6 separate regions of the Homo sapiens genome follow, and regions 2, 3, 4, 5 and 6 are each linked to region 1. Evidence: promoter capture Hi-C in 16 types of primary human blood cells and fetal thymus (Javierre and others, 2016). All regions are on one chromosome and are shown on one strand. The core of a region is centred on a gene start or on the middle of the fragment in contact, and the rest is flanking DNA. Distances in the headings are between cores, read along the strand shown.

Region 1 (4,565 bases), core at 694-3,193:
ACACACATATATATGCAAGTGAAGTGAGATGTCTCTGTAAATTAATTTAAGAAAAAAAGACACTAGTGAGAAAACAGCAAGCTGAAGGAAGCAGAGGCCTCCCACAGGTCTGAAGAAGAAAGAAATTTCTTTCCCAATTAAGCGACACAGCCTTGCATGGTTCCCCAGCAGAGTATGACCAAACCAATGAGTCTTGGCTGGACTCCTGCCTGCAGCTCCACATGATGTCAGGACCTACACACACACACCCACATACACACACGCACATGCACACTCCTACCACACATACAGCTTCCCAGCCAGTAGCACTTCACCCCAACATGTAGAAAGTGCACTTAAGGACAAAAAGGTACCCAAACTCACCCTCACTCACGCTCTGCCAGCCCACATTTCCCTCTGCTCAATTTCCCAGGCCACTCTGGAGACCCCAGCAGAGCAACTGAGAGAAAAAGAGAGCGTTCTTCCTATAATTCACTGAAGACTGTAAAGGCAGCCTCTGCCTCCTTCTCAGGAAACAGCCCAAGGCAAACGTGGACTCAGGCATCTGAGCACAGCATCCAGCCATGCGGGGATTCATCCCACATCTAATCGCAGTTCCCACTTACAGAGCAGGGTGGTTGGAGATGCCTCCAGAGCCCAGCGTGGGGAAGACCTTAGACCCAGCCCAGCAGGGCAACCATCAAGAGGAAGGGAAGAGGTTAACTGCTGAGGACCAGGTTGGCTGAAATGTAGGTGAAATCAGAAATATTGCTTTTGGTAAGGTCTTGACCCCTCCAATCCCTCCAATGCCCAGTTCACAGAATCCTAACTGTGCAAGGGGCAGGAAAGATCAGAAAAGCAGACGTGGAAAAATCAGCATCCCCCACCCCCTGCTTTGCGGGAGGAGCTCCGCTGGCTTCCTCCTGGGGGCTGCTCTGCGGCACCATCTAGCTTCATGGGGCATCTGACCGGCTGCTTCCGCCTGCTTCTTCCTCCCTTCTGCCAGTCTCAGCCCTCCTCCTCTTCAGGGCTCACACCCACTCCCCGACACGCCTTCTTTTAGGACAGCCACTCTCATAGATGTCTGGGAATATGCCTCTGTCCCCATCCTGCCGAATCTACTCCCCAGCAGGCTGGGGAGACACGCTTTGGACCAGGAGGAAAGCTTCCCAGGGCCCCTGCCATTCAACTCTGCCATTCAACCCTGCCATTCAACCCAGCCTCCTCTCCCATGGCTGAGCAGGCTGCCTTCCCGGTGCCAAGCCCATCCTCCCCCACAGCCATGCACCAGTGCACACACATCTACACACGAGTGCACATGTCACACATGCACTGCGGTCGTGTCCCATGGGGTCCCACGGCGTCCCACAGTCTCCGAGGCTCCGCAATCCACCTGGCTCTATCCCTCCATCTCTCACCTGGGTGGAAGCAGCTGCTGGTCCCCCAGGGCACAGGATGTGAGGAAGGTGAGGAGGGTGAGGGGAGAATGGCCGGAGAGCGACCCTCTTCCCAGGCCCTGGTCTTCCTGGCAGGAGGGTTTCGGGTGTTTCTGCAAAGGAAGAGATTTCTAGAAATAGCCTTCACATCCACAGAGGCATAAATGCAGTCGGAGAGGAAGTTCCCTGTGCAGGCCACAGGCTCAGAACCTCGAGAGCCGTCGGGGCTCAGGGAGGAGCCAGCATCGGGGACACACGCGCCTTCCCTGGGTGCTGAGCGCCTCGTGGGGTCACAACACAGCAGAAACTGAGGAGCCCGGCCCGTCCCGCAGCTGCAGACTGAGAGGAGGGAGGAGAAATGACAGCAGAGGCTTGGCCAGGGGCTGGGGCGCCGGGGCCGGTGCCAGGCTGAGCTTCAGAAGGGCTGCAAGAACAGGGGCTTGGATAGGGCAGGAAAAGGACGTCAAGCCAGTTCCTGTTCCTGAGAGGACAGAGATTGTGGCGCCGCTACAAGCTCTGAGCAAAGCCAGCTCCGGGCCTCTGTGTGCCCTTAAGTGGCCTTTAGGACTTCCTCTCACAAGTCCTTCCTCGCTTCCCTTCCCTTCCCTAAAACCCACAACCCGGGGAACTCCAAGCCTGACAGACCAACGCTGCTTCTCAGGGAATGAATGCTTTTCCCCAGCTTGCAAAACGTGAAATGCTAGACTTCGATGCTTTCAAATATTTCACAAAATGAAATCCCTTTTGTGAAAGAACATAGTGTCCAAACTACCTGGTCTCTACTTCATAAGGAAGTCAAACACGGAGGAAGACTTCTTAAAAAATGTTTACTAGGGTAAAAATGATGTAACATTAATAGTACCATCCTAACCATTTCTAAGTGTATAGCCCACAGTAGAAAGTACATTCACATGGTTGTGTGCCAGATCTGCAGGACTTTTCATCCTGCAGCACCCAAACTCTCCCCATTACACCCCAACTCACCTCCCCGAACCCCAGCCCGGGTAACCACCGTTCTACTTTCCGTTTCTATGATTTTTTTTTTTTTTTTGAGACAGAGTCTTGCTCTGTCGCCCAGGCTGGAGTGCAATGGTGTGATCTCGGCTCACTGCAACCTCCACCTCCCGAGTTCAAGCAATTCTCCTGCCCCAGCCTCCCGAGTAGCTGGGATTACAGGTTCCCGCCACCACACACGGCTAATATTTGTATTTTTAGTAGAAACGGGGTTTCACCATGTTGGCCAGGCTGGTCTTGAACTCCTGACCTCAAGTGATCCACCTGCCTCAGCCTCCCAAAGCGCTGGGATTACAGGTGTGAGCCACCACACCCGGCCTGTTTCTATGATTTTTGGCAACGTCAGATACTCATGTGAGTGGAGTCCCACAGTGTCTGCCCTCCTGAGACTGAGCAGAATGCCCTAGAGGTTCATCCAAGTGAGTGCGGGACCCTCTGCGCTCTGCACAGCAGGGCCCTCTTCACAGGATGCAGAGGCTAGGGCCTCGAGGGACTGGAGCTCAAGTTAGTTTTCCAAATGTCTGAGGTGGTGCTAAGCTTTCCAAAGGGACCCCGCAGAAGGAGGAGCAGTGGGGGTGGCTGAAGTAGAGGGGCATGCTTCAGATATGAAGTCTCTACAGTAGTCAAAACCACAGGCTTTGGGGAGCTGCTGTCAGCCTATCACATCCCGAGGGATCCACCCTCCCCCTGGACTGGTCTTCATGCGCCAGCCTTGAGGACTGCTCTACCTTGTTATGAACCTGAGGGAAACCCTGGTTATGCTGGGATGGCTCAAGAAGAGCTTTGGGGACACACAGGACACATCTTGATGGGGAAAGCTGACAAAGCCCTTCCCATGTCCCACTCTACCTGTCTCCTCATTGAAAGAGGATCTATTTTGGAAGAACCCCACCCTTCCTTTACAGTAGGTCAACGCACATAAAACCAACTCATTATAATGAAAAGACAAAAACCCGAAGCCAGGTACTGCAGTTCATCCCCGCTGGGGTACTAACAGAGGCAGAGGCTCAGCAAGAAACTGTTTCCCCAAAATAGAGAAGAAAAGGCTCACTCATTCTTAAATGAAATATTAAGCATCCAGGGATTGCTCTAAGTAAAACTGAAGCTGCAAATAACTCCTCAAAGATTCAGCAAGTCGATTATTTGCTGAGTTGACCATTTTGCAAAATGATCTTTCAGCAAATCAGCTCCTAGAGAATTGATTTCCGTGCAGAAGGCAGGCTGCCGGGTTCTGGTTTGGCACCGATCTGAGGCAGGATGGGGGCTCCCTGCCCCCTAGTGGCTTTGTGGCTAATGACAAGTGCAGCAAAATGCTCCCCAGCGGGCCGAGAGCCCTGACTCAGCAGGCAGGTGAAACACTGGGGAGAAGTTCTAGACTTCCAGAAATCGAATAAGCCAGGAAGACACATGTTATGCAAGCAAGGAGAAATCTACCAGGACCAAGCACCGTATTAGACACAGAGGGCACAAAGATTAGCAAGGCAAATACCTGACTCAAAGGGGCCCTAACTCAGTCTGAGGATGGGGAAGAGACTACGCTGTGGTCACGAAACGAGGTAATGTGCTGTGATAGAGATGCGTCCAGGCTGCCACGCAAGTGAGGAGGAGACGATGTAAACCCCGCAAGATGGAAAAACAACCAATTGGGGAAATAAACTTATAAACAAATCCGTAAACCCGCCATTTCCTGTGGCAGGTACTGACGGAGTGGTAGAGACGGAGTTTCACTATGTCCTGCCATGGAGAAGATTGTAAGGCACAGTGAAGGGAAGGCCGCGCGGGAAAGGTAATGCCTAAGTCTTGAAGGGCTGTAACATTTGCCTGTCAGATGACGGAGGGAGGACGCCTCAGGCAGACGGAGAATGGCAAACGCCACCGGCATCGGGGCCCTAAGACAGCCCAGCAGGTGCGAGAAAACGCAGTCAGGCTGGAGACAGAAGGACCGGTCAGAGGCTGCTGCAGCACCCAAGCTAGAAATGAGGAGAACTAACGCAGAGACAGCAGCAAGGGGAACAGATTTATTACAAATAGAAACAATAAGGCCGGGCCTGGTGGCTCATGCCTGTAATCCCAGCACTTCCTGGGAGGCCGAGGCCGGCGGCTCAACTGAGGTCAGGAATTCGAGACCACCCTGAC
Region 2 (4,565 bases), core at 675-3,174, 460 kb before region 1:
GTTTTTTTTTTTTTAAATAGAAACGAGGTCTCACTATGTTGCCCAGGATGGTCTTGAACTCCTGAGCTCAAGTGATTCTCTTGCTTTGGCCTCCCAAAGTGCTAGGATAACAGGTATGAGCTATGGTGGCCGGCCATTAATACTTACTCACTTTTAGACATTGCAAATGCCTTTTTCTAATCAGGCTTCCATATGTTAGTTTTGTCTATGGTATTCTTTATTGATTGATTGATTGAGACAGGATCTTGCTATGTCACTCAGGCTGGAGCACAGTGGCACAAACATGGCTCACTGACACTTCAACTTCCTGGGCTCCAGTGATCCTCCCAGACTCTCCAGTAGTTGGGACCACAGGCATGTGCCACCATGCCCAGCTAATTTTTGTATTTTTGGTAGAGACGGGGTTTTGCAGTGTTGCCCAGGTTGTCTCAAACTCCTGAGCTCAAGCAATCCAACCACCTTGGCCCCCCAAAGTGCTGGGATTATAGGTGTGAACAACTGCACCTGGCCTTGTCTACGGTATCCCTTAAATAGAAATTCTTTTTGCCCCTGAATGGTCATAATAAGTTAACTTTTACCTATGGTGGGTCCTCCAGAGTGCTGAGTTGTATCAATTAGATTTTTTAAAAAATAAATTTGATTGTGTATATTTAAGGCATACAACATGATGTTACGAGATCCATGTAGATAGTAAAATAATTACTATAGTGAAGTAAAGTAACATATCCATCATCTTATATTAGCACTTTTTTTTTGGTAAGAGTAGTTACAATATACTCATTTAGCAAAAATTCCCAATGTGATACACTATTAGTAACCAAAGTCCTCATGTCTGGATCTTTAGATTTGTCCATCCTACATATCTGCTATTCTGTGTACTTTGACTCACATCTTCCCATTTCTTTCTCCCACCTTACTCCTGGTAACCACTGTTTTATTCTCTATCTCTGTGTATTTGCCTTTCTTTCTTTTTTTCTTTTTTAAGATTCCACATATAAGTTTGATCCACTATATTTGTCTTTCTGTATCTGGCTTATTTCAGTTAGCATAATGTCCTCCAGCTCTGTCTACATTGTGTCAAATGGCAGGATCTCCTTTATAAAGCCTAATTAATATTCCACTGTGTATACATACCATAGTTTCTTTATCCATTTGTCCACTGACAGACATCTAGGCTGTTTCTGTATCTTGGCTATTGTGAATAATGCTGCAATGAACTTGGGAGTGCAGATATCTTTATGAGGTGGTGATCTCATTTTCTTTGGGTATATGGCCAGTAATGGGATTGCTGGATTATAAGGTAATTTTATTTTTAATTTTTTTGAGGAGCTTCTATATTGTTTACTATAATGGCTAAACGAGCTTATATTCTCACCAGTAGTGTACAAGGAAGGTTCCCTTTTCTCCACACCAACACCAACACTTGTAATCTCTAGTCTTTTTGGTAATGGTCACCTTGACAGATGTGAGGTGGTATCTCATAGTGGTTTTGATTTGCATTTACCTGATCATTAGTGATGTCGGGCATCTTTCATATATCTGCTGGCCATTTCTATGTCTTCTTTGGAGAAATGTTTATTCAGGTTCTTTGCCCATTTTTAAAGTGGATTGTTTGTTGTTTTTGCTGTTGAGTTGTATGCGTTTTTAAAAGGCATTTTCGATATTAACTCCCTATTAGATACATGGTTTACAAATATTTTTCTCTGATTTGTTGGTTGCCTTTTTTTTTGTTGTCGATTGTTTGCTTTGCTGTGCAGAAGCTTTTTAGTTTGATGCGGTCCCATTGATTTATTTTTGCTTTTGTAGCCTGAGTTTTGGTGTGGTATCCAAAAAGTCATTGCCAGGGCCAATGTCGAAAACTTTTTCCCGCTTGTTTTCTTCTAGGAGTTTTATGGTTTCAGGTCTTACCTTTAAGATCTTTTATCCATTTTGAGTTGATTTTTGTGTATGGTGTAAGACAAGAGTCCAGTTTCATTCTTTTGCATTTGGAAATCCAGTTTTGAATATAAATTCTTAATTTTTATATAGGGAAAACATCAAGTTTTGCCTTATAGTTTGTGCTTTTTAGGTCTTTCTTATGAAAGCTTCCCTGAATCCAACCCCAGGTATCAAATACATGATTGTAATTTTTTCTATTGCCTTTATAGTTACATCTTTCACATTGAGATCTTTAATTCACCTGGAGCCCACCTCTGCATATGGGTGTGGTGGGAATCCAACACCCTCCACCCCCTATTAAGGAGCTAGTTTTCTCAGCAATCATTTGCTACACATGTTCTTCTTTCTACACTGACTTGTGGTGGCTTCTCTGCCATAAACCAAGTTCTTGTACACACGTGGGTCTATATCCAAGTTCTCTATTTTGGTTTATGATGCCAGCACTTTACCTTCTTATTACTATGATTTTTGGGTTATCTTCCTTCTGGTGAGATACATTCTTCTTGGCTCATCTGGGATCTGTGGAAGGGTGAGTAAAAGCAAATCTTTCTGTCCTTTTCTTCGGAGTCCCTAAGCTCCACAATAGTCAAAATGAAAGAAAAATACCGGGCCTCTGACAGCCAGTTAAAAGCGAACAGTGCGGCTGCCGGACTTAAGGCATGGAGGATGGCCAGAAGATGAAGAGGGCAGAGAGATGATGGGACAGGACGACCAGCTGCAGAGAGGAGTACCCTCTACGCTGAGAGCTGCAGAGAGGAGTACCCTCTCTGCTGAGAGCTGCAGAGATGACCAGTGTGCAGAGAGGAGCTACCCTGTCTGCTGAGAGTTTCAGAGACCTGCAGAGACCTCCGAATGACTTGCCTGCAGACAGGAGCCACCCTCTCCAGGCCTCCTCTGCTGAGAGAGGAACACTCAACGGAGGACCTGCCTATAGAAAGGAGCTACCCACTCCTCTGAGCTGTTCTAACACTAAATAAAACTCTTCTTCTTTACCCATCACTTGTCTGTGTACCTCATTCTTCCTGGACACAGGACAAGAACTCGGGCAAAGGCGCCGTGGCCACAGAGGTTTCCAGTCAGAAAAGTCGACACCCCAGAGATCCTGTAACATCTTTAAAAAAATTATGGTAGTAATTTGGGAACTTTTATTCTTCCTTATAAATTTTAGAATAAATGTATTGCATTCCTAAAAAAGGACAGTTGGAGTTTGATTAGGACGACAATTGTGGTAATAATTGGGTAGAATTGATACTTTAATATTAAGTTGTCCAATCCAACAACACAGATTATTCTGTTTATTTAGATCCACTTTTATCTCCTTTATTAGAGGGTAAAAATTTCCTTTACAGAGGACTAGTATATTTTTTTTCAGGCATTTTATAGGTTGTGTTGCTGTTATGAAAGGTATCCTATTTTCTTATATGTATATATGTCTTATTTTCTCCTATATATTATAGGTGGTTAATGTGGTATAGACAAAGTGTTATTGGTCTTTGTAAGTTGACTTTACATCCATCCAGCAACCCTGTTATTAGTTTTAATAATTAGTTGAAATTTCTATGTAAATTTTCATATAGTCCACAAATAACATTTTAATCTCTTTCCTCCTTCCGACTTCTACACCTCCCATTTCCTTTTCTTGTTTTATAACAGTGGCCCTGACTCTGGCTCTTTGTTACATAGCAGCAATGCTAACAGGCACCTTATCTTCTTGCCAATCTAGATGGGGATGTTTCTAAGGTTTCTCCATTGGATGTGATATTTGCTTGGGGTTTTGGTATGCCGTCTTTAAAAGTTGAGGTGATTCTATTCAAATTCTAGTTTTCTGAATTACTCTTTGGCTCTTTGCCATGAAGGGCTGCCTGTCCCTCATGCCCTTGGCCCACAGAGCACAGCCAGGCTTCCGCCATGCCACCACAGGCAACTCCATGACTTACAAGCTGGTGGCTTACAAACAGGATGTCACTCCTCCTGGGAAGCATCCTCCACCACTGTCCTGGAGGGACATAGCTCAGCCCAGGTGGAGGAGAGTGGTGATGCCCTCCTGTGACACACAGACACCTCATGCACACCTGTGACCTGTGGTACACAGGCAGGAGGGGTCATGGAGAGAAATGACATTGGCTGTGAAACAAGGTGATTTGGCCTCAAAGTTGGGACCTGCCATGTACTAGCTGTGTGACTGTGAACAATTTATTCAACCACTCTAAACCTCAGCTTCCACATTTGTGAAATGGGGAATCTAACTGTTCTTGGGGAAACCACGTGGTAGTTTGTTAAATAAAATAGCCAGCAAAAAGTATTCAGCAGAGTAATAACTGTCCGCTATTGTATTTGTAATCCATAAACGAATATCATTCACACATTATGAGCAGGGTAAATGCTCTTGATAAGAAGTTAAGCAAAAGCTATATATAGACTAAGTCGACGTTTGTTTTAAAATTTGCATAAGTAAAAGACCGAGGAGAAATAGATCCTTTATATTTGTGTTTTCGAATTTTTCTGTAGTGAGCACATGATTACCTCATAAATCTCTGAAACATGTTTTATGGAAACAGAAAGCCCAGTGTGACTCAGCAGTGCCAAGGCTGCCAAGAGAGCTGGCGGTGGCCCGGCCGCTTCAGCGG
Region 3 (4,565 bases), core at 1,463-3,962, 440 kb before region 1:
CATCTATCTATTTACAGATTTATCGAGTTATAATTTACATACCTTACAATTCATCCATTTAGCCTGTGCAGTTCAATGGTTTCTAATATATTAACAGAGGTTGTGCAACAATCTGAATTTTAGAACATTTTTAACATTCCCCAAAGTAACCCTGTACCCATTGGCAATTACTCCCAATTTCCCCCCAAGTCCCCTCAGCCCTAAGCAATCACGAACCTACAGAAAGTAGTAAAAAGGTGGTACCATTTTACATTCTCACCAGCATGTATGAAGGTTTCAATTTCTCTACTTCTCTACATTCTTTTTTTTTTTTTTTTTTGAGATGGAGTTTCACTCTTATTGCTCTGGCTGGAGTGCAATGGCACGATCTCGGCTCACTGCAACCTCCGCTTCCCGGGTTCAAGCGATTCTCCTGCCTCAGCCTCCTGTGTAGCTGGGATTACAGGCATGCACCACCACGCATAGCTAATTTTGTATTTTTAGTAGAGACGGGATTTCACCATGTTGGTCATGGCTGGTCTTGAACTCCTGACCTCAGTTGATCTGCCCGCCTCGGCCTCCCAAAGTGCTGGGATTACAGGCACGAGCCCCTGCGCATGGCCTAATTTCTCTACATTCTTAACAACACTTGTTATTGTCTTATCTTTTTCATTATAGCCTTCCTAGTAATGGGAAATGGCATTGCTCTGTGGTTTTGGTTTGCATTTCTCTAATGACTGGTCATGTTGAGCATCTTTTCATGTGCTTATTGGCAATTTGTTTATCTTCTTTGGAGAAATGTCTATTCAAATGCTTTGCCCATCTTTAATTGGGTTGTCTTTTTATTATTGAGGTGTGTGTGTGTGTGTGTGTGTGTGTGTGTGTATGGTGGACACTAGACTCTTACCAGGTATATAAATTTATAAATATTTGCTGCCATTCTTGTTGTTGTCCTTTCACTTTCTTGATAATGTCCTTTGAAGTGCAAACATTTTTAATGTTGATGAAGTCAAATGTATCTATTTTTTCTTTAGTTGCTTGTATTTTTGGTGTAATAGTGAAGAAATCATACCCTAATTCTAGGTATTTCAATATTTTTTATTTTTATCTTTTAAGAGACAGGGTCTCACTCTGCTACCCAAGCTGGAGTGCAGTGGCATAATTACAGTCCACTGCAGCCTCGAACTCCTGAATTAAGTTATTCTCCCACCTCAGCTTCCCGAATAGCTGGGACTACAGACATGTGCCTCTATGCCTGGATTTAAAAAATATTTTTTAGAGAGGGGGCTCACTATGTTGCCCAGGCTGGTCTCAAACTCCTGGGCTCAAGTGATCATACTGCCTTGGCCTCCCAAAGTGCTGGGATTACAGGCGTGAGCCACTATGCCCAGCCTACAGTTTATATCTTGATCTTGCATTCTGCAAATAGAGATAGTTTACTTCTTCCTTTCCAATCTGAAAGCCCTTATTTAATTTTCTTCCCTAATTTCCCTGAATAGGACCTCTGGGACAATGTTGAATAGAAGTGATAAAAGTAGATATTTTTATCTTATTTCTGATCTTAGCAGGAAAGCATTCAGTCTTTCCTCATTAAGTATGATCTCAGCTGTGTGTGTGTGTGTGTGTGTGTGTGTGTGTGTGTGTGAATTTTTTTGGTGGATTCCCTTTATCAGGTTGATGAAGGTTTCTTCTATTCCTAGTTTGTTCAGTGTTTTCATCATGACAGGGTATTGAATTTACTTAATGTTTTACTGAATCCATTGAAATGATCATGTGGGTTTTGTCCTTTATTCTACTGATATGATGTATTAAATTAGTTGAACTTTGGATGTTAAACCAACTTTGCATTCCTAGGATAAATCCCAGCTAGTCCGGGTGTGTAATCCTTTTTATATACTGCTGAATTTTGTTTGCTGGTATTTTGTTGAGGATTTTTGTACCTATATTAATAAGATCTCTCTCTCTATATATAACATTTATATCTATTATAAAATATAATACATATATTTTATAGAGACAGGGTCTCACTCTGCCACCCAGGGTGGAGTGCAATGGTGCAATCATAGCTCACTGCAGCTTCAAACTCCTGGCCTCAAGTGATCCTCCTCGGCCTCCCAAAGTGCTGGGATATAGGCATGAGCCACTGTGACTGGCCTCATAAGAGATATTGATGTGTAGTTTTCATTTCTTGTGATGTCTTTGTCTGGTTTTGGTGTAGGATAATACTGGCCCCATAGAATAAGTTGAGAAATACTCTCTTCTCTTTTATTTTTTGGAAGTGTTTGTAAAAGATTGATCTTAATTCTACTTTAGAATTTGGTAGAATTCACCATTTGAAGCCATCTGGATCTGGGCCTTCCTTTGTGGGAAATTTAACATGACTAATTCATTCTCTTTACTTGTTATAGGTCCATTCAGATTTTCTGTTTCTTCTTGAGTCACCTTCAGTAGTTGTGTCTGTTGGGAACAGGCCCCCCAAAATCTGGCCATAAGCTGGCCCCAAAACTGGCCATAAACAAAATGTCTGCAGCACTGTGACATGTTCATGATAGCCATAATGCCCACGCTGGAAGGTTGTGGGTTTACCAGAATGAGGGCAAGGTACACCTGGCCCACCCAGGGCAGAAAACCGCTTAAAGGCATTCTTAAACCACAAACAATAGCATGAGAGATCTGGGCCTTAGGGACATGCTCCTGCTGCAGATAACAAGCCAGACCCATCCCTTCCTTTCCCATAAGGGATACCTTTAGTTAATCCCGTTTCCCATAAGGAATACTTTTAGTTAATCTAATATCTATAGAAACAAAGCTAATGACTGGCTTGCTGTTAATCAATACGTGGGTAAACTCTGTTTGGGGTTCTCAGCTCTGAAGGCTATGAGATCCCTGATTTCCCACTTCATACCTCTATGTTTTTGTGTGTGTGTCTTTAATTCTTCTAGTACCACTGGGTTAGGGTCTCCCCGACCGAGCTGGTCTTGGCAGTGTCTTTCTAGAAATATGTTCATTTCTTCTAAGTTGTCTAATTTGCTGGCATAGAGTATCGTTTTATAATCATTTTTATTTCTGAAAAGTTGGTGCATTAGTTGCTAGGACCTCCATAACAAAGTATCACAGATTGGGTGGCTTAAACAATAGAAATTTATTTTCTGGCCAGGTGCAGTGGTTCACGCCTGTAATCCTAGCACTTTGGGAGGCTGAGGTGGGCAGATCACTTGAGGTCAGGAGTTTGAGACCAGCCTGGCCAACATGGTGAAATCCTGTCTCTACTCAAAAAAAAAAAAACAAAAAAAAACCCAAAAATTAGCTGGGTGTGGTGGCACATGCCTGTAATCCCAGCTACTTGGGAGGCTGAGGCAGGGGAATTGCTTGAACCTGGTGTCAGGCCTCTGAGCCCAAGCTAAGCCATCATATCCCCAGTGACCTGCACGTATACATCCAGATGGCCTGAAGCAAATGAAGATCCACAAAAGTGAAAATAGCCTTAACTGATGACATTCCACCATTGTGATTTGTTTCTGCCCCACCGTAATTGATCAATGTACTTTGTAATCTCCCCCACCCTTAAGAAGGTTCTTTATAATCTCCCCCACCCTTAAGAAGTTTCTTTGTAATTGTCCCCACCCTTGAGAATGTACTTTGTGAGATCCATCCCTGCCCCTAAAACATTGCTCTTAACTCCACCTCCTATCCCAAAACCTATAAGAACCAATGATAATCCCACCACCCTTTGCTGACTGTCTTTTCAGACTCAGCCCGCCTGCACCCAGGTGAAATAAACAGCCTTGTTACTCACACAAAGCCTGTTTGGTGGTCTCTTCACACTGACGCATGAGACACCTGGGAGGCGGAGGTTGGAGTGAGCTGAGATCACGCCACAGCACTCCAACCTGGGTGACAGAGCAAGACTCTGTCTCAACTAAAAAAAAAAGAAAGAAATGTATTTTCTCATGATTCTGGAGTCTAGAAGTCTAAGATTAAGTCCTTGGAAATTAATTTCTTCTCAGGCCTCTCTCCTTGGCTTGTAGATGACCATCTCCTCTCTGTGAACTTCACGCTGTGCATTGTCTATGTCTTAATCTTTTTTTTTTTAATAAGGACACCAATTATTTTGGATTAGGTCCTCCCAAATTACCTCACTTACCTTAATTACCTCTTTCAAGGTCCTGCGTCCAAATACAGTCACATTCTGAAGAACTGGGGGTTAGGACTTCAATATATAAGTTTTGTTTTTATCGGGGGAGACACATTTCATCACATAACAGTAGTAATGTAGTAATGTCCCCTTTTTCATTTCTGATTTTGACAGTTTGAGCCTTTCTCTCTAGCTTTCATCAATCTAGCTAAAGATTTGTCCATTTTGTTGATTTTTTTTCAAAGAACTAACTTTTGGTATTATTGATGCTCTCTATTTTTTTCTGTTCTCTTTATCTCTGTTTTAATCTTTATTATTTCTTTTCTTCTGCTTGCTTTACGCTGAGTTTGCTCTTCTAGTGTTTTAAGGTGGAAGGTTAGTTTAGTGATAGAAAATTTCTTCTTTTTTAACATAGTTATTTATAGATATAAATTTTCTTCTAAGCACTGCT
Region 4 (4,565 bases), core at 1,048-3,547, 420 kb before region 1:
TTTCAATTAGGTATAATTTGTAGTGGGCTTTCTGAGTCATAGGATGTATGTATGTTCAATTTCACCAAGTACATGCAGGCTATGTTACAGAGAGGCTTCATCAGTCCACATTTCCAAAGGCACAAAACCCACCTTAGACCCATGTTTGTGTTTCTGAAAGCCCTGCTTATATTTGGCACTAGATAATTTTCTAATTTTGATAATCTCTTGATATATTTGTTATTAATTTGTTTTTTCTATGAATTACTTGCTTCTATACTTTGCCATTTATAGAATGGGTTTCTGACTTTTACTTACAGATTTGCAGAAGTTTCCTATATATTCTAATTATGAATTCTTTGTCAGTTTGAGATGTTGAAAGTATCTTCTCCCTCTCAACTTTGACTATGGATTCCTTTGTTGAATAGAAACCTGTAATATTAATGAAATCAAATCTACATATTTTTTTACCTTGTGGTTTATGATTTTTAGGTCTTGTTTAAGAAAATTTCCACCTTTAGGTCACAAATATTTTCCTACATTTTTAGTTTCACTGTTTATGTATAGATTCTTACTCTTGCTGAAGTTCATTGTATATTATATCAGGTAAGGATGCAGTTTTATTTTTCTCCATATTATGGGAGCTTTTCCCCACTATAACCTACTAAACAGTCAGTTTTTTCCTGTTTCTTCGTAATTCCCTTATATTCATGAGTCTCTGAGCTCTTTTTGGTTCTGTTGGTCTGTTGGTCTACTCTTGAGCCAATACCATGATTAAAAAAATTTCCATGGCTTTATAGTGTAACTTAATATTTGATGGGACCAGTCTCACTTCTTTGTCCTTCTTTCTGAAAAATGATTTCACCATTTGTGAACCCATTTTTCATATGTTTTAGAATAAATTCATTAACCCCTAAAAAATTCTGGTTGGGATTTTGATTGGGATTGGAATTATAAAAAACATTTGAGGAGGATGGATATCTTTACAATGTTAAGCCATACTATCAAAGAGCACGGTTTTTTTATTTATTTATTCATATATTTCATTACATTATGGTCTCAGAACATGGTCTGTATGCTTTCAATTCTTTAGAATTTGAGACTTCTTTTAAAATCATTATTTGGTCAGTTTATGTGAATGTTATATGTACACAATATACACATGCATTCTTTGGTTTGTGGAGGGTTATATACAAATATGAGTTTATTAAATGTCTTATTTAGATAATCTATGTCTTTGCTTTTTTTGTCTACTTGATCTATCAGTTCTGAGATTTATGTACTAAAATCAGCAATGTTGTTGGTTTTCTTCTTCTTGCTTGAGATTATGTTGTTAGATGCATATATGTTATGCATGTTGTATCTTCTTTGTCTATTGTTTCTTTCATCAAGATATACTATACCTCTTTCAAGCTGATACAGAAGTAGAGAGAAGGATATAATGAACCCTCTCAAATCCATCATCCAGCTTCAACTACTCATGGCTACTCTTATTTTATCCATACTACACAAACTCTTCCACACCCCTTCTACTGGATTATTTTGAGGTAATGGCAAACATAATATCATTTAAAAAGTAAATACACTAGCATCTATCTATAAAAGATAAGGAATTCTTTTTAAGCATAATCATAATACCCTATCAAACCTAAAGAATTAACAATAATTTCTTAATACCATCAAATATCCAGTGTTCTAATTTTCCAATTGTCTTATAAATATTTCTATTCTCTTTACTTAAATTAGGATCCTAATGAGATTCATACCTTAGAATTAGCTGATATGCTTCTTGAGTTTCTTTTCATCTATAGATATAACATATCTCTATCTCTTTTGATATTTCCTGGCTATGAATTCTATTTTGTTATATATTAGGATGGCTACATTTTTGTAATTAAATTTTTTAAAGATTACAAAAACAATATATGAGTAAATGTTCATAAAACATTAAAACACATATGGAAGTGTGTTTTTTGTTTATATAAATAGAATTCTACAATGTTTATTATTCTGTGACTTGCCTTTATCACTTAACAGCAAATACTGAAACATATCCTTTTTAAAATATCACAGCTTTATTGATATACAATTCACATACTATACAATTTATAGATTTATTAAATCTATTGTCACAACCAATTTTAGAATGTTTTCATTACCTCTAAAAGAAACTCTATATCCAATTCTCCCCAATCCTCCCAGACCATGGCAACCACTAATCTACTTTCTGCCTCTATGGATTTGTATATTATGAACACTTCAAATAAGTAGAATCATATACTACATGGTCTTTTGCATTTGTCTTCTTTCATTTAGCTAATGTTTTCAAGGTACATCCATGTTGTAGCATGTATCAATATTTCATTTTTCCTTATTGCAGAATGATATTCCATTGTATGGATATATGACATTTTGTTTATTTAATCATCAGTTATTGGATATTTGTTTTGTTTCAACTTTTTGACTATTATAAATAATGCTGCTATAAACATTCATGTACAACTTTTTGTATGGACACATTTTCATATTTCTTGGACACATACCTGGGGTGAAATTTCTGTATTCTATAGTAGTCTGTCTAACCTTTTGAAGAACTGCCAGACTGTTTTCCAAAGTAGCTGCACTATTTTATATTCCCACCAGCAATGTATGAAGTTTATAATTTCACCACATCCTCACCAACACTTGTTGTTATCTGTCTTTCTGATTACAGCCATCCTGGTGGGGATGAAGTGGTATCCCATTGTGGTTTTGATTTGCATTTCCCTTATGACTAATGATGTTGAGCAACTTTTCATGTGATATTGGTTACTATGTATCTTCCTTGGAGAAATGTCTGTTCAGATCCTTTGCCCATTTTTAAATTGGGTTACCCATATCAGATATATGATTTGCAAGTATTTTCTCCCATTCTGTGGGTTGTCTTTTCATTTTCTTAATGATATCCTTTGAAGCACAAAGGTTTCTACATTTTGATGAAGTTTATTTTATCATTTTTTTCTTTTGTTGCTTGGGCATTTGATGTTATATCTCAGAAATCATTGCCTAAAATTGGCAAGGTCGTGAAGATTTATGCTTACATTTTATTCTAAGAGTTTTAGCTGTTACATTTAGGTCTTTGATTCATTTTGAGATAATTTTTATATATGATAAATACTAGGGTTCCGGTTTCATTCTTTTACATGTGTATATCCAGTTGTCCCAGCACTGTTTGTTGAAAGTCTATTTTGCTATTGAATTGTTTTGGTAATCTCATCAAAAGTCAACTCTATATGTGAGGTTTTATTTAATTAATGTATTTATTCTGAGACAGGGTCTCACTCTGTCACCCAGGCTGCAGTGCAGTGGTGTGATCATGGCTCCACTGCAGCCTTGAACTTCTGGGCTCAAGCCATTCTCTGCCTCAGCCTCCCAAGCAGTTGAGACTATAGGTGTGCACAACCATGCCTGGCTAATTAAAAAAAACCTTTTTATTTTTTTTTTTGAAGCGACAAGTTCTCTTTATTTTGATCAGGTTGATCTCAAACTCCTGGGCTAAGCGATCTTCCTGCTTCAGCTTCCTAAAGTGTTGGGAGGCCAAGTTGGGAGGCCAGGTTCCTAGGAGAATGGGCCCTGCAGCACACACAAGTGCATGATCATTCTGCCAGTCCCTGCCTTTCTAGGCCTGGGAAGCTGGGGACTGGAATGCTGTTGCCACTCCTTGACCTCGCCTGCAAACACAGCAGCATCAAGGGCAGAAAGGCAGTTTCAGTATCCCTTTCATCTTCCAGATCTTGCTCAAATGCTCCTGATTGGTAGAAACTAATTCTATACAGAGCTTTAGATATAAAACAATCTGGGAAATGGAGAGTTTAACTTTCTAGTTGCTGCAGAACAGGAAGATACATTAGGAGGGAAATATAATAGAGGTTAAGGAAGTGTCCATCATATTTCCCATGAGTCCAGTGACTTGGGAAATGGCTGTTCTCAGTCCTGGTGAGACTGTCTAGAATTCTGTGTCCATTTCTTTCCCTGAAATGTAGAGATATAGAAAAGATTTGTATTGTGAGCTAAATTGTGACCCCCTCAAAAGATATATTTGAGTCCTAATCCCCAGTTCCCATGAACGTAACCTTATTTGGAATTAGAGTCTTGCAGATGTAATTGAGTTAAAATGAGGTCCTACTGGAGTAGGGTGGGCCCTAAACCCAATGACTAGTGTCCTTATAAAAGGAGAAATGCAAAGACACAGAGACACCCAGGCAAGCCAGCCATGTGAAGAGGGAGACAGAGATCTGAGTGATTCCTGAGCTATCCTTTAAACCATCACCTGTATCTGTATTGCCTCTCAATGTACAGCCAGGCCAGCAGCTACAGGGAACTCAGAATATTCAGGCTGTGCTCTCAGTTCCCCCCTACCTCCTACTTATTTCCATACTTCCTTTCTTGGGGACAAGTTTCCATCTCAGCAGGGGCTCAGTGAAGGCTGTGGTGATATTGGGATGCTGGGTTAGGATCATGGCTGGGGCAAAGACCTTTTTTTGATACAAGGTCTCACTCTGTTGCTCAGGCTGGAGTGCAGTAGTACAATCACGGCTCACTGTAAC
Region 5 (4,565 bases), core at 1,512-4,011, 390 kb before region 1:
AGAAGAAAAAAATCAAGAGGCCAGAAAATCAGGAAGCAGAAGTTAAAATATGTTGCTGATCTTTGAAATAAAGAATTTGTGTTGGTAGACATGTGACCTTGTGTGGTGCAGGGATGTATTTGTGTTAAACCATTTTGGTGACTATGACATTCCAGGTGCATATTGGAGGTAGCATGTAGGACTTCAGAAATCACCAGAACAGTCACTGCCTCTGTGCAGCCCTTTGCTGAGCACAATTTTGGAAGGAAATATAGCAGCATGGTTACTGGTACAGGATATAGAGCCAGAAGGCCTGAGTTTGAATCCAGGTTCTACTTCTTTTAGTTGGATGTTATGTGGGAAAAGCGGTTAACTTTTCCTTTTAGAGACGGTGATTTTCTCTGGTGGTATGATTTGATTTCTTGCTTTTTAATTTTTGTGCATCTGTTGTATGTTTTTTGATTTGAGATTACCACAGGGCTTGCAAATACTCTTACAATCTATTAAGTTGATAACAACTTAACACTACTTGCATAAACAAGCAAACTAAAAAGCAAAAAGAACACTAATAAAGACTTTCTCTTTATCTTTGTTCCCCTACTTTTTGTTCTTTTTTTTTTTTGTTTGAGACAGCATCTCACTCTGTATCTAGGCTGAAGTGAGGTGCATGGCGTGATCTCAGCTCACTGCCACCTCCGCCTCTGGGGCTCAAGCGATCCTCCCACTTCAGCCCCCAAAGTAGCCGGGACCACAGATGTGAGCCACCATGCCAGTTAATTTTTGTATATTTTGTAGAGATGGGGTTTCGCCATGTCATCCAGGCTGGTCTTGAATTCCTGAGCTCAAGCAATCTGCCTACCTCTGGCCTCCCAAAGTGCTTGGATTACAGGGGTGCCCTGTGGGATTATAGGCAGAAGCCACCATGTGAGGCCTTCCCCCACTTTTTAACTCTTGATGTTTCCATTTATATCTTACCGTACTGTCTATGTTTTGAAAAGTTGTTATGATTTTTGATTGGTTCATATTTTGGTCTTTCTACTTAAAAGTAGTTTACACACCACAGTTACAGTGTTGTATTCTGTGTTTTTCTGTGTACTTACTAATACCCGTGAGTTTTGTATCTTTAGATAATTTCTTATTGCTCATTAACATCCTTTTCTTTCTGATTGAAGTACTCCCTTTAGCATTTTTTTGTAGGACAGGTCTGGTGTTGATGAAATTCCTCAGCTTTTGTTTGTCTGGGAAAGTATTTCTCCTTCATGTTTGAAGGATATTTTCACCAGATATATAATTCTAGAGTAAAAGTTTTTTCCTTCAGCACCTTAAATATGTCATGCCACTATCTCCTGGCTTGTAAGATTTCCACTAAAAAGTCTGCTGCCAAATGTATTGGACCTCCATTGTATGTTACTTGTTTTTTTTTTTTTTTTCTCTTGCTGCTTTTAGGATCATTTTTAAAAAAAATCCTTGCCCTTTGGGAGTGTGATTATTAAGTGCCTTGAAGTGGTCTTCTTTGGGTTCAATCTGCTTGGTGTTCTATAACCTTCTTGTACTCAGATCTTGATACTTTTCTCTAGTTTTGGGAAGTTCTCTGTTACTATCCCTTTGAATAAACTGTCTACCCCATCTCTTTCTCAACCTCCTCTTTAAGGCCAACAACTCTTAGATCTGCCCTTTTGAGGCTATTTTCTAGATCCTGTAGGTGTGCTTCATTAAAAAAAAATTTTTTTTGTCTCTTCTGGCGATATAATTTCAAATAGCCTGTCTATTCTCACTAATTCTTTCTTCTGCTTGAGCAGTTCTGCTATTAAGAGACTCTGACGCATTCTTCAGTATGTCAATTGAAATTTTCAACTCCAGAATTTCTGTTTGATTCTTTTCAATTATTTCAATCTCTGTTAAATTTTCTGACAGGATTCTGAATTCCTTCTCTGTGTTATCTTGAATTTCTTTGAGTATCTTCAAAACAGCTATTTTGAATTCTCTGTCTGAAAGGTCAGATATCTCTGTTTCTCCAGGTTGGTCCCTGGTGCCTTATTTAGTTCATTTGATGAGGTCTTGTTTTCCTGGATGGCTTTGATGCTTGTGGATGTTCGTCAGTGTTCGAGCATTAAAAAGTTAGGTATTTATTGCCATGTTTGCAGTCTGAGTTTGTTTGAGCCTGTCCTCCTTGGGAACAGTTTCCAGGTATTCAAAAGGACTTGGGTGCTATGATCTAAGCTGTATCTGCTTTAGTGGGCACCCCTAGCCCAGTAGCACCGTGGTTCTTGCACACTTGTAGAGGTATCACGTTGGTGGTCTTTGATAAGGTCCAGAAGAATTCTCCGGATTACCAAGCAGAGACTCTTTTTTCTTCCCTTACTTTCTCCCAAACAAATGGAGTCTCTCTCTCTGTGTTGAGCTGTCTGGAGCCAGGGGTAGAGTAACACAAGCACCCCTGTGGCCACCGCCACTGGGACTGTGCTGGGTCGGATATGGAGTATCAGCACAACACTGGGTCTTGCCCAAGGCCTGCTGTAACCACTACCTGGCTACTGCCTATTTGCTCAAGGCCCTAGGGCTCTACAATCAGCAAAGGTGGTGACGCCAGCCAGGCTTACATCCTTCCCTTCAGGTTGGTGAGGTCCCCTAGGTCCTGAGTGGGTCCAGGGATGCCATCTGGAGCCATGGATGGGAATCTAAAATCTTAGAAGTCTACCTGTTGTTCTATTCTACTGCAGCTGAGCTGGAACTCAAACCACAGGATGCAGTCCTTCTCATTCTTACATCCCATTCTCACAGGCAGAGGAGCCTCACCAGGCCCGTGGGGAGTACTGCCAGGCTACCACTGATGCTCAGTTAAGGACCAAAGGAACTTCAGTCAGCTTGTGGTGAATGTTGCCAGGCATAGGAACTCATCCTTCAAGACAATGGGCTCCCTTGGCCCATGGTGTGTCCAGAAATGTTGTCTGGGAGCTAGGGCCTGGAATGGGGGCCTCACAGCCTTTATCAGTGCCCTAACATACTGTGGCTGAGCTGGTATCCAAAATGCGAGACAAAATCCTCTTTACTCTTCCCTCTCCTCAAGCAGAAGGAAGGGGTCTCTTTTGGAGCTGTGTGCTGTGCTGCCTGGGGTTGGGGAAGGAGTGGTGCAAACACTTCCTTAGACACCACAGTTGGTGTCTCATGTGCCCCACCAGTTCACTAACTCCAAGCCCAGCTCAGCACTAGGTCTTGCCTAGGAATTGCAGTCCTTGTTGCGTAGACTGCTCCTCAAGTTCACTTAGGGTCCCAAAGCACTGCAGCCAATGGGGGTGAGGCTTGCTGGAACTCATGCTCTGACTGCTGGGCTGGGTGAGTACCCTCTGGCCAGGGCTGGTCCACATGTTCCCTCCGTGGTGTCAGCTGAGTATAGCTCAGTTTTGCTTTCCGCTGTGACATAGCAGCACTGAGTTCAATGCAAAGCCTCACAGTCATGGCATTCTCCCTCTCTCAAGTGTATATACAGATTCTCTGTGCCATGTAGCCACTGCCAGGGGATGGGGGAAGGGTGGCATCAGCAACTCAAGACTGTCCTTCTCACCCTCCTCAGTGCCTCTCTCAGGAATTTGAAGTCAAAACCAGGCACTGTGAGTGCTCACCTGATTTTTGGTTCCTATGAAAGTGCTCCTTTTGAGTAGATAGTTGTCAAACTTGGTGTTCTTGTGTAGGGGTGGGGATGTTTGGTGGAGTCCTTTATTCTGCCATCTTGCCCTGCCCCTAGGGTAAAGAAGTTAATTTTTTGGCCGGGTGCCGTGGCTCACGCCTGTAATCCCAGCACTTTGGGAGGCCGAGGCAGGCAGATCACGAGGTCATGAGATCGAGACCATCCTGGCTAACACGGTGAAACCCCGTCTCTACTAAAAATACAAAAAAAAATTAGCCAAGTGTGGTGGCGGGCGCCTGTAGTCCCACCTACTTGGGAGGCTGAGGCAGGAGAATGGCATGAACCCGGGAGGCAGAGCTTGCAGTGAGCAGAGATTGCGCCACTGCACTCCAGCCTGGGCGACAGAGCAAGACTCTGTCTCAAAAAAAAAAAAAAAAAAAAAGTTAATTTTTTAAACCTCACTCAGTTTTCTCATTTGTGAAACAGGCACAATAATGGATATGAAGGTGTGACAAAATTGTTGGCATCAGATGAGGTAAAAGGTATGTAAAGCACCTAACTAATGTTTTTGACACATAGAAATCACTCAATAAATGTTAGCTATGATGATGATGATCATGGTTAGCTATGATGATGATGATGGTTACAGTTGGGGAGGTATGAATGCGGGTAATACAGAGGACTCCAGGGGCCCTGAGATGTGGTGAGTGTGTGTGAGGGCTCCTTGACTTTTCCCCTTCCCCTGCTCCATAAGATCAGAGAGTTGATTTAGTTCATGTCTGTCTTGTTTAGTTCACGTCTGTCTTGTTTAGTTCACGTCTGTCTTGTTTAGTTCACATCTGTCTTAGTAACAAGCCAGTTTCCCTAAAGGCTTTTCATTCACCCCCCTCTCTTTTCAAAACTCTTATTTTTCTTTCTAAGTGTTATTTTCCCTCTGCATGTGAGTAAGTTGTTGGCCATC
Region 6 (4,565 bases), core at 1,178-3,677, 320 kb before region 1:
AGAGTGAGATTCTTTCTCAAAAAAAAGAACATGTGATGTTTGTCTTTTTGTGCCTGGCTTGTCTCATTTAAGGTGAATATATATATATATAATATATGTATATGTATATATGTGTATATATAAAATCTTATGGTATATATATGTTATACATACACATGTGTGTATGTATAACATACATATATATACACACACACATATATAAAACATTTTCTTTATCTACTCATCAGTTAATGGGCCCTTAGGTTTGTTTAATATCTTTGCAGTTATGAATTGTGCTGCAATAAACATATATGTGAAAGTGTCTTTTTGATATAATGACTCCTTTTCCTTTGGGTAGATACCCAGTAGTGGGATTGCTAGATTGAATGGTAGATCTACTTTTAGTTCTTTCAGAAATTTCCACATTGTTTTCCATAGAGATTATACGAATTTCCCTTTTTACCACATCCATGCCAACATCTATTGTTTCTTTTCCCCCAACTTTTATTTTAGGATTAGGGGTATGTGTGCAGGTTTGTTGTACAGGTAAATTGTGTGTCATGGGGATTTGGTGTACCGATTATTTTATCACCTATGCAATTAGCATAGTACTCAATAGGTAGTTCTTTGATCCTCACCCTCTTCCCACCCTTCTCCCTCAAGTAGGCCCCAGAGTCTCTTGTTCCCTTCTTTGTGTTCATGTGTGCTCAGTGTTTAGCTCCCACTTGTAAGTGAGAACATGTGGTATTTGGTTTTCTGTTCCCGTGTTAGTTTGCTTAGGATAATGGGCTGAAGCTCCATCCATGTTGCCACAAGGCATGATCTCATTTTTATGACTGCATAGTATTCCATATACAGGTATATATGTAGCAATTTTCTTTATTCAGTCTACCATTGATGGCCATCTAGGTAGATCCCAGGTCTTTGCTATCACAGATATTGCTGCGATGAACGTATGCATGTGTGCGTCTTTATGGTAGGATGATTTATATTCCTTTGGGTATATACTCAGTAATGGGATTGCTGGTTCAAATTGTAGTTCTAAGTTCTTTGAGAAATCACCAAACTGCTTTCCACAGTGGCTGAGCTAATTTACATTTCCATCAGCAGTGTATAAGCATTCCCTTTTCTTAACAACCTCAAGCATCTGTTACTTTTTGATTTTTTTTTTTTTTTTTTTTTTTTGGTGAGATGGAGTCTCCCACTGTCACCCGGAGTGGAGTGCAGTGGCGCGATCTTGGCTCACTGCAACCTTCGCCTCCCAGGTTCAAACGATTCTCCTGCCTCAGCCTCCCAAGTAGCTGGGATTATAGGCATCTGCCACCATGCCCAGCTGATTTTTTGTATTTTTAGTAGAGATGGGGTTTCACTATGTTGGCCAGGCTGGTCTCAAACTCCTGACCTCATGATCTACCCCCCTCGGCCTCCCAAACTTTTTGACTTTTAATGATAGCCATTCTGACTGGTGTGAGATGGTATCTCATTGTGGGTTTGATTTGCATTTCTCTAATGATTAGTAATGTTCATTTTTTCATAAGCTTGTTGGCCATGTATATGACTTCTTTTGAGAAGTGTCTGTTCATGTCCTTTGCCCATTTTTAAAAGGGTTTTTGCTTGTTAATTTGTTTAAGTTCCTTATAGGTTCTGGTTATTAGACCTTTGTTGGACACATAGTTTGCAAATATTTTCTCTCATTCTGTAGGTTGTTTGTTTACTGTGTTGGTAGTTTCTTTTGCTGTGCAGAGGCTCTTTAGTTTAATTAGGTCCCATTTGTCAATTTTTGTTTTTGTTGCAATTGCTTTTGTTATCTTTGTCATGAAATCTTTGGCAGGGCCTATGTCTAGAATGGTATTCCCTAGGTTTTCTTTTAGGATTTTGTAGTTTTGGTTTTACATTTAAGTCTTCAATCCACCTTGAGTTGATTTTTGTATATGGTGAAATGAAGAGGTCCGGTTTCAATCTTCTGCATATGGGTAGCCAGTTATCCCAGCACCATTTATTGACTAGGATGTCTTTTCCCCATTACTTGTTTCTGTTGACTTTGTTGAAGATCAGATGGTTGTAGGTGTGTGGCTTTATTTCTGGGCTCTCTATTCTGTTCCATTGGTCTATATGTCTGTTTCTGTACCACACCGTGCTGTTTTTTGTTACTGTAGCTCTCTAGGAAAGTTTGAAGTCAGGTAATGTAATGCCTCCAGCTTTGTTCTTTTTGCTTAGGATTGCTTTGACTATTTGGGCTCTTTCTTGGATCCATATGAATTTTAGAATTGTTTCTTCTAATTCTTTAAAAAGGTAATTTGTAGTGTGATAGGAATAGCATTGAATCTGTAAATTGATTTGGGCAGTATGGCCATTTTAACAATATTGATTCTTCCTATCTATGAGCATGAAATGTTTTTTCATCTGTTTGTGTCATCTCTAAATTCTTTGAGCATTGTTTTGTAATTCTCATTGTAGAGATCTTTCGCCTCACTGGGGTTGAGAATTACAAAACTCTCCTTGGTTAGGGAGGTGAAAGATATTTTACTGAAAGAGATTTGAAAATGCCTAGGTATTTTATTTTTTTCTGTGTGCGTGGCTATTACGAATGGGCTTGCATTCTTGATTTGACTCTCAGCTTGGACGTTGTTTGTGTATAGAAATGCTACTAATTTTTGTACATTGAGTTTTTATCCTGAAACTTTCTTAAAGTTGTTTGTCTTGAATCTGTAAGAGCTTTTGGGCAGAGACTATGAGGTTTTCTACATATAAAATCATATTGTCTGAAAACAGAGATAGTTTGACTTCCTCTCTTCCTATTTGAATGCTTTTTATTTCTTTCTCTTGCCTGATTGCTCTGGCTAGTACTTCCAGTACCATATTGAATAGGAGTGGTGAGAGTGGTCATCCTTGTCTTATTCCAGTTTTCAGTGGGAGAGAGAGGGAGAATTCAGAGGGAGAGAGAGACAGAGTGGGAGAGAGAGAATCATATTTAAAGTGTACGATTTAATAAGTTTTGACACATATCCATTGGCCCCCCCCAAAATATCCTCATGACCCTTGTCAGTCCTTCCTCCTGACACTTCTCACCCCCATCCCCGGGCAGCCACTGACTTGCTTTTTGTCACTATAGAATAGTGAGCATTTTCTAGAGTAAGTGGAATCACACCATATATACTATATGTACTCCTTTTGTTTGACTTTTTCCACTGAGCATAATAATTTTGAGGTTCACCCATGTTGTGTGAATCAGTAGCTCATATCTTTTTATTGAGAAGTCATATTCCATTGTATAGATATGCTACAGTTAGTTTATCCATTCACCTGTTGATAGATATTTTGTTTATTCCCAACTTTTGCCTATTGCAGATAAAGCTTTATGAATGATCAGGTATAAGACATTTATGAACACATGATTTCTTTTCTCTTAGGAATATACCTAGGAGTGGAATGCCTGAGTCATATTATGGGTGTGTAAGATTACTTTTTAAGAAACTGGCCAATTGTTTTCTAAAGTCATTGCACCACTTTTTTTTTTTTTTTGAGATGCAGTTTTGCTCTTGTTGCCCAGGCTGGAGTGTACTGGTGTGATCTCAGCTCACTGCAACCTCCGCCTCCTGGGTTCAAGCAATTCTCCTGCCTCAGTCTCCTGAGAAACTGGGATTATAGGCGCCTGCCACCACACCTGGCTAATTTTTTTTTTTTGTATTTTTAGTGGAGACAGCATTTCGCCATGTTGGCCAGGCTGGTCTTGAACTCCTGGCCTCAGGTGATCTGCCTGTCTTGGCCTCCCAAAGTGCTGGGATTACAGGCGTGAGCCACTGAGCCCGGCCAATTGCACCATTTTATATACCACCAGTCCCTCCACATCTTCACCAACACTCAGTGTGTTCAGTGTATTTAATTTTAGCCATTCTAATAATCCTTTTTAGTGCTGCATAATATTTCCATGATATGAGTATACCAATATGAGTATCCCTACTGATGCACTTTTACCTCTCTTCCTATGTTTTTGCCTCTAGAAACAATTCTGCAAAACCAGACTATACTAACTGGAGCTTTTATTGCCATGAGACGGAGTCTTTGGAATAGGGTTGATGCATTAAAGTGTATAAATATTTTAAAATAAAATAAATCCTATTGAGAGCTTTCTTAAAAGGCTGTAATAATTTACATTTACCAGCAATGCATTAAAGCATCTTTTGCGTTTCTTCCCAACCTCACCACTATTTTTTTTTTTTTTTTTTTTTTTGAGATGGAGTTTTGCTCTTGTTGCCCAGGCTGGAGTGCAATGGCGCGATCTTGGCTCACTGCAACCTCCGCCTCCCGGATTCAAGCGATTCTCCTGCCTCAGCCTCCGGAGTAGCTGGGATTACAGGCATGTGCCACCACACCCGGCCTTTTGTATTTTTAGTCGAGATGGGGTTTCTCCATGTTGGTCAGGCTGATCTCGACCTCCAGACCTCAGCTCACCCCTAATTTTTGTCAATAGTATATAACTTTTTACAATGCTTTCAAGTTGTTTTGATTTTCATTTCCTTCATTATGAAGTGAATTTTTTTCACATGTGTATTGGCCATTGATTGTTCATCTGTGAACAGTCTAAG

The links. Contacts are between HindIII fragments. The CHiCAGO score rates a contact against its expected background, and 5 or more counts as called.
Region 2: a fragment that was not itself captured here is called in contact with the fragment with the promoter of GIMAP8 in region 1 in 1 of 17 cell types (M1 macrophages); the score reaches 5.2 in M1 macrophages.
Region 3: a contact is called between a fragment that was not itself captured here and the fragment with the promoter of GIMAP8 in region 1, in 1 of 17 cell types (M2 macrophages). The highest score is 5.3, in M2 macrophages.
Region 4: a fragment that was not itself captured here is called in contact with the fragment with the promoter of GIMAP8 in region 1 in 4 of 17 cell types (M2 macrophages, M1 macrophages, naive CD4 T cells and 1 more); the score reaches 10.0 in M2 macrophages.
Region 5: a fragment that was not itself captured here is called in contact with the fragment with the promoter of GIMAP8 in region 1 in 1 of 17 cell types (monocytes); the score reaches 5.3 in monocytes.
Region 6: a fragment that was not itself captured here is called in contact with the fragment with the promoter of GIMAP8 in region 1 in 17 of 17 cell types (activated CD4 T cells, M1 macrophages, M0 macrophages and 14 more); the score reaches 28.3 in activated CD4 T cells.

The regions. Positions count from the first base shown.
Region 1 is chr7:150,448,008-150,452,572 of GRCh38, reverse strand. It overlaps GIMAP8 (GTPase, IMAP family member 8), which reads right to left and starts at 1,943. Exons shown (of 5, transcript NM_175571.4): 1 at 1,398-1,943. It overlaps LINC00996 (long intergenic non-protein coding RNA 996), which reads right to left. Exons shown (of 4, transcript NR_034033.1): 4 at 4,433-4,565. The HindIII fragment of the contact is 1,822 bases long and covers 1,147-2,968 here.
Region 2 is chr7:150,903,801-150,908,365 of GRCh38, reverse strand. No RefSeq gene overlaps it. Among named protein-coding and RNA genes, the nearest start is that of AOC1, 54 kb to the right of the region's middle. The HindIII fragment of the contact is 324 bases long and covers 1,763-2,086 here.
Region 3 is chr7:150,886,496-150,891,060 of GRCh38, reverse strand. No RefSeq gene overlaps it. Among named protein-coding and RNA genes, the nearest start is that of AOC1, 36 kb to the right of the region's middle. The HindIII fragment of the contact is 8,329 bases long and covers 1-4,565 here.
Region 4 is chr7:150,869,936-150,874,500 of GRCh38, reverse strand. The region is part of intron 1 of LOC105375567 (a long non-coding RNA gene); the gene reads left to right. Among named protein-coding and RNA genes, the nearest start is that of AOC1, 20 kb to the right of the region's middle. The HindIII fragment of the contact is 8,356 bases long and covers 1-4,565 here.
Region 5 is chr7:150,840,971-150,845,535 of GRCh38, reverse strand. It overlaps LOC105375567 (a long non-coding RNA gene), which reads left to right. Exons shown (of 5, transcript XR_928171.3): 2 at 4,091-4,146. Among named protein-coding and RNA genes, the nearest start is that of AOC1, 9.3 kb to the left of the region's middle. The HindIII fragment of the contact is 8,468 bases long and covers 1-4,565 here.
Region 6 is chr7:150,771,325-150,775,889 of GRCh38, reverse strand. The region is part of intron 2 of LOC105375566 (a long non-coding RNA gene); the gene reads left to right. Among named protein-coding and RNA genes, the nearest start is that of TMEM176B, 27 kb to the left of the region's middle. The HindIII fragment of the contact is 1,816 bases long and covers 1,520-3,335 here.